Regions from separate parts of the Homo sapiens genome. Here region 2 is linked to region 1. The links are contacts of gene promoters, found by promoter capture Hi-C in blood cells and fetal thymus (Javierre and others, 2016). All regions are on one chromosome and are shown on one strand. Each heading gives the region's core, a stretch centred on a gene start or on the middle of the fragment in contact. The rest is flanking DNA. Distances are from core to core; before and after follow the strand shown.

Region 1 (7,543 bases), core at 2,757-5,256:
GAGGCAGGAGAATCGCTTGAACCCGAGAGGCGGAAGTCGCAGTGAGCTGAGAGCGTGACATTGTACCACTCCAGCCTGGGTGACAAGAACAAAACTCCACAGTAAAAAAAAAAAAAAAAAGTTAGCCACCACGCCCGGCTAATTTATTAGTATTTTTTTTGTAGAGATGGGGTTTCACCATGTTGCCCAGGCTGGTCTCAAACTCCTAAGCTCAAGCGACCCACTCACCTCAGTCTCCCAAAGTGCTGGGATTACAGGCGTGAGCCACTGCACCGAGCCCCCAAATTTCTTTATGTCAGGTAAAACATCACTGAGAGGTGACAGTTGAACCAAGATGGTATGTATGTCACGGAGTCCCGCTGGGCATGGTGGCTTATGCCTATAATCCCAACACTTTGGGAGACTGAGGCAGGAGGATCACTTGAGCCCAGGAGTTTGAGACCAGCCTGGGCAAAATAGCAAGACTCGATGTCTACAAAAAGATTTTAAAATTAACCTGGTGTGGTGGCATGCGCTTGTGGTCCCAGCTACTCAGGAGGCTGAGGTGGGAGGATTGCTTGAGCCTGGGAGGTCTAGGTTGCAATGAGCAATGATTGTCCCACTGCACTCCAGCCTGGGTAACAAAGCGAGACCCTGTCTCAAAAAAAAAGAAAGAGTCCCATGCAAAGACCTGGGGAAGGGCATTCCTCAGCAGAGGAAATAGTCAGTGCACAGCAAACAGTCGGAAATGAGTTTGGTGTGTTTGTGTTTAAGGACTCAAAAGAAGGTCAGTGGAACTAGAGCCAGTGACAGAGGGGCCGCTGGTGGGCAAAAAGGAGAGGGGCAGGCAGGAGCCATGGCCAGGGGTGCAGGCTGGGGTTTTACCATAAAAAATTGTGGGAAGCCCTGGAGAACTCTAAGCAGGGAAGGAAGAGGATCTCACTTTTTTTTTCTTTTTTGAGACTGAGTATCTCACTCTGTCACCCAGGCTGGAGTGCAGTGGCACAGTCTCGGCTCACTGCAATCTCTGCTTCTCAGATTTAAGTGATTCTCGTGCCTCAGCCTCCTGAGTAGCTAGGATTACAGGCGTGTGCCACCACGCCTGGCTAATTTTTGTATTTTTAGTAGAGTCGGGGGTTTCACCATGTTGGCCATGGCTGGTCTTGAGCTCCTGGCTTCAAGTTATTCGCCCACCTCAGCCTCTCAAAATGCTGGGATTACAGGTGTGGGCCACCGCACCCAGGGCAAGGATCTCACATTTTAAAAGACTCTTCGGGCAGCTGAGACTCCAACTATTTAAAATGACTGCAGGCAAGAACCTAAACTTCCCACAAAGAAGCTTTCCTTAGAGGAGTTCAGGAAATAATCCTGAAGCCAGAAGCTGGAAAGAAAGAATGACAGGGAGAGATTGGCAGAATGTGGAGCATTGAGAAAGCTCCTGCCTCCTGGCGGGAGTGAGGTTGGTTCAACCACTCTTGGGAACTGGTAGAATCTACTAAGACTGAACATTCCTCCACCCTTCGACCCAGCGCTTCCTCTCCAACTGCAAGGCAAGCACAAGGGCATCAGAGGACACGTGCAAGACTGTTGACAGCAGTGCTATTATTTCCTGTAACCTGGAAACCACCCCAGCGCCCAGCAGTGGTAGAATGGACCCATTGTGGTCTACTCCTACAATGGAATACTGAACTGCAATGAAAAGAAAGAAACTACTATTGGACGGGTGCAGTGGCTCACGCCTGTAATCCCAGCACTTTGGGAAGCGGAGGCGGGCGGATCACTTGAGGTCAGGGGTTTGAGAGCAGCCTAGCCAACATGGTGAAACCCTATCTCTACTAAAAATACGAAATTAGCCAGGTGCGGTGGCGCATGCCTGTAATCCCAGCTACTCAGGAGGCTGAGGCAGGAAAATCGCTTGAACCTGGGAGGTGGAGGTTGTGGTGAGCCGAGATCTCACCATTGCGCTCCAGCCTGGGCAACAAGAGCAAAACTCCGTCTCAAAAAAAAGAAAGAAAGAAAGTTAACAGTTTAAAAAGCAATGTGAAAAGGCAGGAATGGGTGCTGCATTTCCTTCTAGGGCTGCCCTCGTTGAGCCATTCGATTCCTGGGTGGGCAGAGGGCCAGGGCCTCAGGCCCAGCCCAGGGAGGCCAAATGCCAGGGCCCACAGTCTCCCCAGAGTGGGTTGGCAAAGAATGACAGGACTGGTTCCCCAGCCTGGAATCTAAGCTGAGCCTGCAGCCTTTGAGCTGGGAGGAGCTTGCGGCTGCCTGGCTGCCCCGCTGCCCCGCTTCATTCGCTGAATTCAGAAGCGCCTGTGGCGAGCCTCTCCCATGGACGGCCGGGTACCCGCCCTGGGCTCTGCTGCCTGGACACTGAGCCCAATGCGGAATTCCTCTCCCAGCAGCGGGGAGGCGCTATTATTAGTTGATTAATTTGCAAAACAAAAACCTGGCTGGGGCAATTGGTCTTGAAGGAAGGTTCTCCCAGAGCGAGTAAATCTGAGACAGGACCAGAAGAATAATCTTGGGGAAAAGGAAAGTGGCTGACTCTGGTGCTGAGTCCCGGCCTTGCCAGGGACCCCGACTCTGCTGTTACACAGGGAATGCTGTCTGGAATCGGCCCGGTGGCAGGTGGGGGGTAGACAGCTCTCCCCTCCGTCTGATGCCTGCTCCTGTTCTCCTCCTTGAGCATCAATCGGGAGAAAGATGTGGGTTTGGGTTTTTCCCCCTCACTTCTCAGACCCAGAACTGCCCCATCCCAGTCTGGGGGGAGACATGATGCTCCATCCCCCAAAGCTGAGCCCCCTCATGGGGCATCCAGGAGAAGGCAATGGGTCCCCAGGACAGGGCCCGGACCTCCCCCTTGCTCGCCCAGCCCCACAAAGCCCCACTCAGCTTCTCCACTGCCTTCATTGTCTACAGACTTCAACCTCACAAAACGCCCAACAAAAGCCCTGCAGTCCACGGCCCAAAGGCCACAAGCCAGCTATTGTGACATTCCAGCTGGCCTGGGAGGCTTCACTTCCCACTCTCAGGAGCTTTTTAAAGTATCTCTTAAAAATGCATCTCAGATGGGGAAAAGAGGTAGCAATTCTGTTGCCAAGGAAAATGAGATTTTGGCCAAGTGCAGTGAGTCATGCCCGTAATCCCAATACTTTGGGAGGCCGAGACAGGAGGATGGCTTGAACCCAGGAGTTTAAGACCAGCCTGGGCAACACAGTAAGACCCTGTCTCTACAAAAAAATTAAAAAATTACCAAAGTGTGGTGGCACATGCCTATGGTCCCAGCTACTCAGGAGGCTAAAGTGGGATGATCACTTGAGCCCAGGAGTTAAGAGATGACAGTGAACTATGATCTTGCCACTGCACTCCAGCCTGGGCAACAGAGCAAGACTCTATCTCAGGAAGAAGGAGAGACAGAGAGGGAGAGAGAGAGAGAAAGAGAAAAGAAAGGAAAGGGAAGGAAGGAAGGAGAAAGGAAGGAAGGCAGGGAGGGAAGGAAGGAAGGGAGGGAAGGAAGGAAAATGAAATTTTCTCCTAATCCTTACAATCGAATAGCTAGCGACCACAACTCCTATCATTTGAAAACTCCTTGAAATCAAGCATCTCTTGGTCAACTTGACCCCTAATTTGTTTTGTTTTAAGGACCCTCTAGGACAAGGAAGACGTGTTCTGTTTTCTCCCAATCTTCTGGAAATCCTTCCCAAGATGGGAGGACTGGAATTCCAGAACAAGGGATGACAGGAGCATGAGAAAGGTGGGAGAGACTGTGGCCGGACCTCACCTGAGAAAGTCAGCCCTTCCCAAGGCATCCATGCATCTGGGCCCCTCACCCATTTGGCCCCCTTCCCTCTTAGATGCAAGGCTTCTGATTCTGATGGAAGATATTTGGCTTCTTCAAGGAGTGTGGGCACACTAAGCATGCCACTGGCTTCTCCCAATTCCTGAATAAGGGACACTTACCAGGCAAGTGCTGGGGACCCCCACATCCTCAGGCCCAGCAGCTCTCTCCTGCCCTGGGAGAATTTAATCTGAAGCAGTTCCAAGCAACTAAACGAAAGGTTGGCTCCTCCCCTTCCCCTCCAGTGCAGGTCTCGGGTCACTCAGGTGCCAGAAAACACAGGTGGGTGTCAACACTCTCAGCTTCTCCCCATCCCTCTGCATGGGTGAGATGAATTGCTTCAGCCGTGGGAGCTCAAAATAAGATTGCGGATCAGAAGGCTGAAGATGAATTGATCCACTGAGGCTGGAGTGCAGGCCCTCATTCTCCGCTCCCGGGAGAAGCCTGTCTCTGTGCCCAAGGAAGGAAAGAAGCTAAGAAACTGAGCTTCACCGGAGGAACAGTCACGCTGTCTTGATGGGGCTTCCCAGAACCCTGCTCCAGGCCCCTCCTGGCAGAGTTCAAAAGGAGCTGAGGGGCCAGGCATGGTGGCTCATGCCTGTAACCCCAGCATTTTGGGATGCAGAGATGGGCAGATTGTTTGAGGTCAGGAGTTCGAAACAAGCCAGGGGAACATGGCAAGACCCTGTCTCTACAAAAAATTTAAAAACTAGCTGGGCATGGTGGCACACACCTGTGGTCCTAGCTACTCAGGAGGCTGAGGTGAGAGGATTGCTTGAGCCCAGGAGGTTGAGGCTGCAGTGAGCCCTGATTGTGCTACTGCACTCCAGCCTGGGCAACAGAACAAGACCCTGTCTAAAAAAAAAAAAAAAAGGGGCCGGGCACAGTCACTCATGCCCATAATCCCAGTGATTTGGGAGGGCGAGGCAGGCTGATCACCTGATGTCAGGACTTCGAGACCAGCCTGGCCAACATGGTGAAACCTTATCTCTACTAAAAATACAAAACTAGCCAGGTGTGGGGGTGCACGCCTGTAATCCCAGCTACTTGGGAAGTTAAGGCAGGAGAATTGCTTGAACCCGGGAGATGGAGGTTGCAGTGAGCCAAGATCGTACCATTGTACTGCAGCCTGGGTGACAAGAGCAAAACTCCGTCTAAAAAAAAAAAAAAAAAAAAAAAAAAAAAAAAAAAAAAAAAAAAAGACCAGGCGCAGTGACTCACGCCTGTAATCCTAGCACTTTGGGAGGCTGAGGTGGGTGGATCATCAGGTCAGGAGTTTGAGACCAGCCTGGCCAACATGGTGAAACCCTGTCTCTACCAAAAATACAAAAAATAGCCGGGCTTGGTGGTGGGCACCTGTAATCCCAGCTACTCTGGAGGCTGAGGCAGGAGAATCGCTTGAACCTGGAAGGCAGAGATTGCAGACAGCTGAGATCGTGCCATTGCACTCCAGCCTGGGCGATACAATAAGACTCCGTCTCAAAAAAAAAAAAAAAAAGGAAGAGGAGATTAGGGCACGGACACATACGGAGGAATGACGGTGTGAGGACACAGGGAGAAGATGGCCAGCTGTGAGCCAGAGAGGCAGCTCCGGAGAAACCAGCCCTGCCTGCACCTTGATCTCAGACTCCTAGCCTCTAGAACTGTGAAGAAATCAATTGGTGTGTAAATCCCAAGTCTGTGGTACTCTGTCGTGGCAGCCCTTGCAAACAAATATCCCTGCAAAATGAGGATTTAGGACTAGATGGTTCCTAATACCCTTTGCAAGTGAAAAAAAAAAAAAGTCTTGATTTTAACTATTCCATTTTATCTGTGTTTATCCCTTCCTCCCCCCGCCCCAAATACTTGCCATTATTGAAAGTCGAGGAAGCCAGGCACAGTGGCTCACTCCAGCCTGGGCAACAGAGCAAGATTGTATCTCAGGAAGAGAGACAGAGAGGGAGAGAGAGAAAGAGAGCCTGTAATCCCAACATTTTAGGAGGCTGAGGTTGGCAGATCACCTGAGGTCAGGAGTTCGAGACCAGCCTGGCCAATATGGCGAAACCCCATCTCTACTAAAATTACAAAAATTAGCCGGGCATGATGGCACACGCCTGTAATCCCAGCTACTCAGGAGGCTGAGGCAGGAGAATCGCTTGAACCCAGGAGGCGGAGGTTGCAAGTGATCCAAGATGGCGCCACTGCATTCTAGCCTGGGTGATGAGCGAAACTCCATCTCAAAAAAAAAAAAAAAAACCAGAAACTAATTATCTCCCAGGTTTAGAGGCCAGAAGTCCAAAATCCAGGTGTCAGCAGGGCCACGATCTCTCTAAAGATCCCAGGGGAGGGTCGTTCCCTGCCTCTTCCTAGCTTCTAGTGGCTGGTGGCAGTCCTGGGTGTCCTGGGCTTGTAGCTGCATCACTCCCATCTCTGCCTCCGTCACCAGCATATGGTATTCTTCCTGGGTGTCTCTGTCCACATTTTTCTTTTTCTTTTTTTTTTTTTTGAGAGAGAGTCTCACTCTGTCACCGGGCTGGAGTACAGGGGCACTAAGTGCTGGGATTACAGGCCTGAGCCACCACGCCCGGCCCCAATTTTCCTCTTCTTATAAAGACTCTAATTACTGGATTAAGGGCCAGCCTAATCCAGTATGACCTCACTTAACTTGATTGCATCAGCAAAGACCCTATTTCTAAATAAGGTCACATTCCCACATATCTGGGATTTGGCTTTTTTTTTTTTCTTTGAGACAGGGTCCTACTCTGTCACCCAGGCATGAGTGCAATGGTGCAATCACGGTTCACTGCAGCCTCGACCTCCTGGGTTCAAGCAATCCTCCTGTTTCAGCCTCCTGAGTAACTGAGAATACAGGCACACACCACCATGCTTGGATGATTTTTAAATTTTTTCTAGAGACAAAAGAGACCAGAGGGAACAGCCACGGTGGCTCACGCCTGTAATCCCAGCACATTGGGAGGCTGAGGTGGGCAGATCACTTGAGGTCAGGAGTTTGAGGCCAGCCTGGCCAACATGGTGAAACCCCATCTCTACTAAAAATACAAAAATTAGCCAGGCATCATGGCGCATATCACTCATTCTAGCTACTCGGGAGGTTGAGGCACGAGAATCACTTGAACCCAGGAGGCAGAGGTTGCAGTGAGCTGAGATCACACCACTGCACTCCAGCCCGGGCGACAGAGCAAGACCCTATCTCAAAAAACAAACAAACAAGAGACAGAGACCAGAGGTCTCTGAGATGGGGTCCGTACGAAAGATACCACTACGTTGTCCAGGCTGGTCTCAAACTTCTAGGCTCAAGTGATTCTCCTGCCTCAGGCTTCCAGAGTGCTGAGATTACAGGTGTGAGCCACTGCACCCAGCCTGTTTCTCTTTTTCTTTTCTTTTTTTGAGACGGAGTTTCACTCTGTCACCCAGGCTGGAGTGCAGTGGCACGATCTCTGCTCACTGCAACCTCCACCTCCCAGGTTCAAGCAATTCTCTGCCTCATCCTCCCGAGTAGCTGGGATTACAGGCACCTGCCACCACGCCTGGCTAATTTTTTGTATTTTTAGTAGAGGCGGGGTTTCACCATCTTGGCCAGGCTGAACTTAAATTCCTGACCTCGAGATCCACCCGCCTCAGCCTCCCAAAGTGCTGGGATTACAAGCGTGAGCCACCACACCCAGCCCTGTTTCTCTTTTTAACTCATCTTTTTGTTGACCAACTTTTCCTTTAATCCCAAAT
Region 2 (7,088 bases), core at 2,908-5,407, 380 kb before region 1:
GACTAATTAGTCGTCTCACCCAATAATTAGTTTTTTGTTTCCCTGTCTGTTTTCGTGCATTATTGTTAGTTTTTTCCCCTCTTTTTTTTTTAACACCATTACAGATTAAAATGAGCCACATTTGCAGTTGATGGTATCTGTTTTCGGGGGAAGAATGGAGAATTGCAGTACCGAGCGACTTCAAAAGCAGCAATAAACTCAAGGATAAATTAAGGAAATTGAATGAGCCACATTTGGAAGCAGTGTTGAGGCTAATATTCTGTCGCTTAAGGTTAAATTGCAACTGAGAGAGGTTCCGGAGAATCTGAAATCGGGGAGGCAACTTACTAGGATGCGAGGCATTCTGTGGCTGTAAAGGTCTTTGCTCAGTGAAGATTCTGTTGCAGCTATGGACACTGACAAAAGGTACTCACCTGCAATGATGTCCTCTTCTCCCCAGGGCTGACAGATGAAGAGATTGATATGGCCTTCCAGCAGTCGGGCACTGCTGCCGATGAGCCTTCGTCCTTGGGCCCAGCCACACAGGTGGTTCCTGTCCAGCCCCCTCACCTCATATCTCAGCCATACAGTAAGTCACCCGCTCAAACTCCTGCTTAACCTTGATTGGGATTCAGGACTCTGGCCAAAGGGCAGTGTTCTGTATCTCCCAGACTTAGCAAACCAGGAGAAACTGGGAGCAGCAGAAAGCTCTTGGGTTTTTCCCAAGGAATGTGACACACCCCAGTCTTCTAGACAAACTTTTTAAAGTATGTGACAAAGGTTTAAGAAGAGACAAGGGATCAGAATAAATGATTTTATTGTTGTTTCAGGTATTTTGGTTACATGCAGAAAACCTGTACAACTATTTATTGATTCTGTTCCCATCTCCTCATACCAGTGCTTTTGAATGTTACTGTTTCACTAAAAACAGCGTGACCATCTGACTCATGGGTGCATTCTTGTTTGCTCACTGCAATAACCTGTCTCCCACTTCTATTTTTTTAAGTTAATATTTGTAAGTTTAGGTCAGCCTCCATTTCCCTCCCTCCCTTGTCCTGGCTATACTTTGTACGTTTATGTAGTAGCGGTCTGTTAGGGAATTTCAGGTTAAAACATGAAGTTCCTTTTTGAATGTTTCTTTTAATTATACGAGATCATGACCCATGAGGGGTCTTTCGTTGTCTTAAATGAAAGCTACTATAGGAATAAAGTTTCTTCAAACAAGTTATAAATGCATACCTCCAAAATGCAGCCAGAAGCCCTCCTTGAAATCACTTATAAAAAGTTTAAAAAGGCTAAAATTGACTACAAAGTTATGGAAAATAGCTCCATTTTGTTTCTTTAATGAAACTCAGCATTGGGCCGGGCACGTTGGCTCACGCCTCTAATCCCTGCACTTTGGGAGGCTGAGGCGGGTGGATCACCTGAGGTCAGGAGTTCGAGACCAGCCCGGCCAACATGATGAAACCCTGTCTCTACTAAAAATACAAAAAATTAGCCAGATGTGGTGGCAGGCGCCTGTAATCCCTGCTACTCAGGAGGCTGAGGAAGGAGAATTGCTTGAACCCGGGAGGTGGAGGTTGCAGTGAGCCGAGATCGTGCCACTGCACTCCAGACTGGGCAACAAGAGCGAAACTCTGCCTCAAAAAAACAAACAGGCAGGGTGCAGTGGCTCACATCTGTAATCCCAACACTTTGAGAGGCCAAGGCAGGCGGATCACTTGAGGTCAGGAGTTCGAGACCAGCCTGGCCAACGTGGTGAAACCGTGTCTCTACTAAAAATACAAAAAATTAGCCGGGCGTGGTGGCACACGCCTGTAATCCCAGCTCCTTAGGGGGCTGAGGCAGGAGAATCACTTAAACCCAGGAGGTGGAAGTTGCAGTGAGCCGAGATCACGCCGCTGCACTCCAGCCTAGGTGACAGAGTGAGACTCTGTCTCAAAAAAAATAAAATAAAATAAAGAAACTCAATACTGGATCTGTGATCTCTCAAAATGCCTTTTCTATAATTGTTATTCTCAGAAGTTTTATTTTTGCAAAAAATGATTTAAAACTGTTAGATATCAGATTTTAAGGCCGGGCGCAGTGGCTCCCGCCTGTAATCCCAGCACTTTGGGAGGCCGAGGCGGGTGGATCATGAGGTCAGGAGTTCGAGACCACCCTGGGCAACAAGAGCAAAACTCCATCTCAAAAAAACAGACAGGCCGGGCGCGGTGGCTCACGCCTGTAATCCCAGCACTTTGGGAGGCCAAGGCGGGCGGATCACTTGAGGTCAGGAGTTGGAGACCAGCCTGGCCAATGTGGCAAAACCCTGTCTCTAATAAAAATACAAAAATTAGCTGGGCATGGTGGCGGGTGCTTGTAATCCCAGCTACTCAGGAGGCTGAGGCAGGAGAATCGCTTGAACCGAGGAGGTGGAGGTTGCAATGAGCTGAGATCATGCCATTGCACTCCAGCTTGGGTGACAAGAGCAAGACTCTGTCTCAAAAAAAAAAAAAAAAAAAAAAGTGTTAGATATCAGATTTTAAAAGGCATATTTTAAAATGACAGATTCGTTTTGATCCCCCAGCACCTGGTCTGAAGCTGCCTTCTTTCCCTCACCTCAGCACTGTTTTCATCCAGCTCAGCTGCAGCTAGGCAGGTGTGATCTTGGCAGTAGAGCCAAAAAGGCCTTCTCTTCTCCGGACTTGCTGAAGGGCCAGCCAGTGGGTTGGAATCTGCTGTCTGTGTTACGGATCTTATTTAGAGATCTCCTCCTTTGGCTGTCCACAGAAGGCTGAATGGGGGAGGCCAGGGAGTGTGTGCTCAAGTGTGTCAATCTGTCAGTGCCTTGCATGGGTGACCCACTGCAGGTTGCAGAGCTTCAGTGGTGAGCCTTGTCCTGTATTTGGGCTACTGGGTTAGCACCTGTGACTTGTCAGCTTGGGGCTCCTTTCTCCTTCCTGGCCAGCATTTTTTCCAATCCATTGTAGTTGCTTTGGGTCCTAAGCTGACTTTATGTGCTTCTTTTTAACCAAAGGCTGAGTCTCCACACTTTTTCTTTAGTTGTGTCCCTGGGCCCAGCCGTGTAATGGGATTTGTTGAGGATAGGCAGCGGCAGCTGGGGTGCAGAATTTTCTAAGATGCACATCTGTTCTGTTCCAGCTGTTTCCTCCAGTGGCTTAATACCGAACAGGTCTCTCGGCTACTTGGAAACTTCTTACTCAGAACAAATTGTTCTGGTTGATCACAGAGTTGGCCTAAAACATCATATGTTCACCTACTTTCCATAGACACAAAGGGTTAAACTGTTAGTCTTTCTGAAAGAGGCAAAAGAATGGGGTGGGGAGGGGCAATTCAGTTATTTAAATCATACTCATGTCCAGATCGCTCTGAGAAAAAGCAATACACGTTGAGGTATTTAGGTAGGAATATTTTTAAGAGCCTTCCAGCCCCTAAAAATAAAATACACATTCTTAGACACAGACTTCTTCCTGCTTTGACACTAGTGTAAAAACAATGGTAATGATAATTTTAAATACCTGAAGTTTTTAGTTGTCATCATTGAGCTTCATTCTTCTCATACCGTTACATTGCTCCTCTCACTCCGGGGGTGACTCTACCTCTTCACTTCTGTACTTTTGCCAAGAGGTGTCAAAACTGCTTAAAAAAAAAAAAAGCTTGATTTTGATTAATATAGAGAAACAAGACTTTGCCTGACTGATAATAAAACTGATAAATGACATTTGAATTACTTGTAGCGGTAATTTATTACATAAAATATCTTTTATTTGACATGCGATTAGTTGCTGGAAGCATCACTCAATCTGACTAGTTTAAACATGCTCCAAAATGAACCCCAGTAAAAACCAGGGCTGTCTGCTGCTGGCATTATGAAATATACTAATCCTGGAGTGAGGGAAAAATCTGACTTTAAATATTTAAATGATTAATTGGGTTTATATATTTTTTTACTTTTCTAACCCCCTTAATTACAAGCAAACTCAGGGGAGTTTCTGAACTAGGTGCACAATCTGCATGCTTATCACTGAGGCATTGTCTGCGTCGGGAGGGATTTATGGCCTCTATTCATGTGTGTTCCTGCCGATTTTACATCTAGATCCCCGGCAGCCTTTTCCTTCCCATTTCTTGGCTTTTTACGGACATTCCATCTCTGAGCCCAAGGCTAGAAAATGGGATCCCCTGGGCCTAGCCCCAAACACTCAGGTCTCAGGGTAGGGTAGCTTTTCCAAGACCACCCCAGGGAGCCCAGTGCTCTTCACCTTTGAACCTGCTGGCCCACCTGCTCAGTGGCAGGTGTGCCACTGAGTGCCTCTTTTGGCATCTCTGTTCTTTGGTGAATGTGGTTGACCTTGAGATGTTAGCAAATGCCAGTGTTGGCAGAGAGAACGTAGAGACCTGCCCAAATAGTAACAGTTCAATTTCTCAGTATTTTTATTAACCATCTACTATACGGTCAGTACTATATCATGCGAGAGATCCAAAACCTGATCTTTAAGCATCTTGCTAAGCTCTTTGGGAAAGATAAGATAAACTCTTAAGAAAAGGATAATAATATAAGATGTTGTGATTTAATGCCAAAATTAATTATACAGACAAGAAATTCTGAAATTCTGAAATATAGAAAAGAGAAGAATTAATGTGGGCTAGAGTCAGGGAAGGCTTTTGTGAAAGTGATAGGAGGTTGGCACCAAGGGGAAGCTTGGTGTCACCTGGTGTGAGCATAAACCAGTGCTCTCGGGGGCTAGAAGAAAGTTGGTACAGTTCAGGAGAAGTCAGGCTGTGATTCGAGAGAAGATTTGAAATTCTCCATTTCTCATTTTGGTTTCTTGTCTGGCTTTACATCGGGAGTCAGTGCATGTGTATAGGTGCAGGCCTAGCCCAGTCCTGAGCAGAGGTCTGATAAATGCTGGTTGATTGATTCACGCCAAGCTGATTTGTCTTCGTCCTCCCAGAGAGACCAAGAAGCTTTGAGATATAAGCAGGACCAGTGTAAATTTTGTAGGATAATAATTTCTTCTTAGATTTGAACATTTTCCCTCCACTGTCTTTGATAAACAATTTAAACCCCTTCAAAGACTGACCTAGAGCTTCAGTTGCTTCTTCTCAAAATAGGATGTCAGCATCTGAGGCCGGTGAAAGGTTTTGAACCATTTGATTAGAAATCCTGAGAGAGAGTGAGTTATTCCTCTGTTTATTTCTTTTGTAGCCCTGTGTAGTAACACAAACTTATCTGTGGTTATCTTAATTCACTGAGCAAGCATTGTTATTGAATGCCTACTGTGTGCCAGACCCCTGGGCTAAAGAGACTAACAAGACCTGGTCGCTCTCTCTGGTTGCTCCCGTCTGGTAGGAAAGACGGTTAGGCCAACATAGCAGTGCCTGTCAGGTGGTCCCGGTGAGGACGGTGGCACAGAAGAGGCGACGGGAAGCTTCAGAGAGCAGATGTCTAACTGGATGTGGCGGGCTGCTTGGTTCAGTGATCAGACAGGATAGACAAGAGCATTCCAGGCTAACACAAAAGCATATAGATGTGAAACTGATGAATTTAAGAAACTCCAGGTTGTTGGACGTGGCGCCTGTAATCCCAACTCTTTGAGAGGCTGAGACAGGAGGAGCACTTTGAAGCTAGGAGTTCAAGACCAGCCTGGGCAACATAGTGAGATGCCATCTCTGTAAAAAAATTTAAAAAACAAAACTAGCCAGGCATGGTGGTGCGTGTACTTGGGAGGCTGAGGTGGGAGGATTGCTTGAGCCCAGGAGATCGAGTCTGCAGTGAACCATGGTTGTACCCCTGCACTCCAGCCTGGGCTCCAGAGCAAGGCCCTGCCTCTAAAAAACCAAAAAGAAAGAAACTCTGAGTTGTTCAGAGTGGCTGGAGCATGGGATGAGAGTCAGAGGAAATGGCTGGAGAAAGGGTGGCTCTGTCAGCTCCGACAGAGGACAGCCAAAAGCACAGTGATGTTTTACTTTGAAATGCATCATCTAATTATTTTTGTGCCATACGACCTATTTGGCCATTTTATTCTTAGATTAATATTAAAATTATTTGTATCATCTCAGCAGGTGCCATGAGGTTAGTTAGGGGAGACATGGGTGGGGGGGCATCAGCCGGAGGCCATTGTTCTTGTGCCGAGCCTGTAGTGCCTACCCTGTGTGCTCACTGTTGTTCTCCATGGTTGGGCCAGCACTCGCTCCTCCAGGGAGTCTTTCCAGTGCCTCCATTCTGACTTGGAGGGAAGCTCCCCTCAGGCCCCTAGACTCCCCACCCCGCCCCACTGCACTTAAACATTTATTCCAGTGTCTCCCCTATTAAACTGTGAGTTCTGAGGCTTAAAAAAATCTAGTGGCCTGAGGCTCTGACTGAGCAGGTGTTCTAGAAATGCTTGTGGAATGGATTAACAGGGGTGGAAATGTGCTTGAGAATGGAAGGGCTATCATGTGGACGAGCTGCCCTGGTGGTCGGTCGGTGATACGGTCTGTGAGCCCAGCTGGTGCAGACTGCTCTGGGCAAGCTATGGAAGAAGTAGGGGATGGGACCCACCTTCAGGAGCTGCTGTTCATCGTAGAGGGAAGCCCTCCATTGCTTGGAGAAAGACAGGGAAGACCATCCCACGTCACCTTGCATGGTGAGAATGTTGAGAGCTTTCAGAATTTGAGAACAAAGGAAATTCCCAGAACGCTAGTCTTAGGCAAGGCTTTCTAGAAGGGGCAGGACTTGAACTGGCTTTGAAGATCAGTCAGCCATAAGGTAGACCCAAGGTGTCAAGGAAGACATCACTGTGGAGAGGGAACAGCAAAGGCCCGGGGCCAGGGTGGCCTGTGCGTAAGTGATACTGAGGTGACAGTAAACAGAAAGCATGCATGGGTGGCCTCGGGGTTCCCGTCAGAAAGCAAAATAGCAAATGTCGCCTCCACCTCTCTCTCTGTCTCTTCCATTTCTCTCTCATGCTTCCATTTCTTTCTCTGCTGGTTTAGCAGACAAATCTCTCTTTTTGCTACCTGAAAGTTACTGGTTTGTATATGAAGAAAGTATTTCTTTAATTTTGAGGAAATTGTGTTTTCTTTTGTCCGTGGTGCCGGTTTGGATTAGCAAGCACCCTCTCCAT

The links. The method cuts DNA at HindIII sites, captures the fragments that hold promoters and counts their contacts. A CHiCAGO score of 5 or more calls a contact.
Region 2: a fragment that was not itself captured here is called in contact with the fragment with the promoter of CIROZ in region 1 in 3 of 17 cell types (endothelial precursors, M1 macrophages and M2 macrophages); the score reaches 7.0 in endothelial precursors.

Annotation. Positions count from the first base shown.
Region 1 is chr1:10,978,070-10,985,612 of GRCh38, forward strand. It overlaps CIROZ (ciliated left-right organizer protein containing ZP-N domains), which reads right to left and starts at 4,007. Exons shown (of 13, transcript NM_001170754.2): 1 at 3,943-4,007. The coding sequence starts at 3,968. The HindIII fragment of the contact is 7,392 bases long and covers 1,317-7,543 here.
Region 2 is chr1:10,598,799-10,605,886 of GRCh38, forward strand. It overlaps PEX14 (peroxisomal biogenesis factor 14), which reads left to right. Exons shown (of 9, transcript NM_004565.3): 4 at 440-568. Among named protein-coding and RNA genes, the nearest start is that of PEX14, 130 kb to the left of the region's middle. RefSeq lists enhancers at 3,716-4,217, 4,218-4,717. The HindIII fragment of the contact is 1,042 bases long and covers 3,637-4,678 here.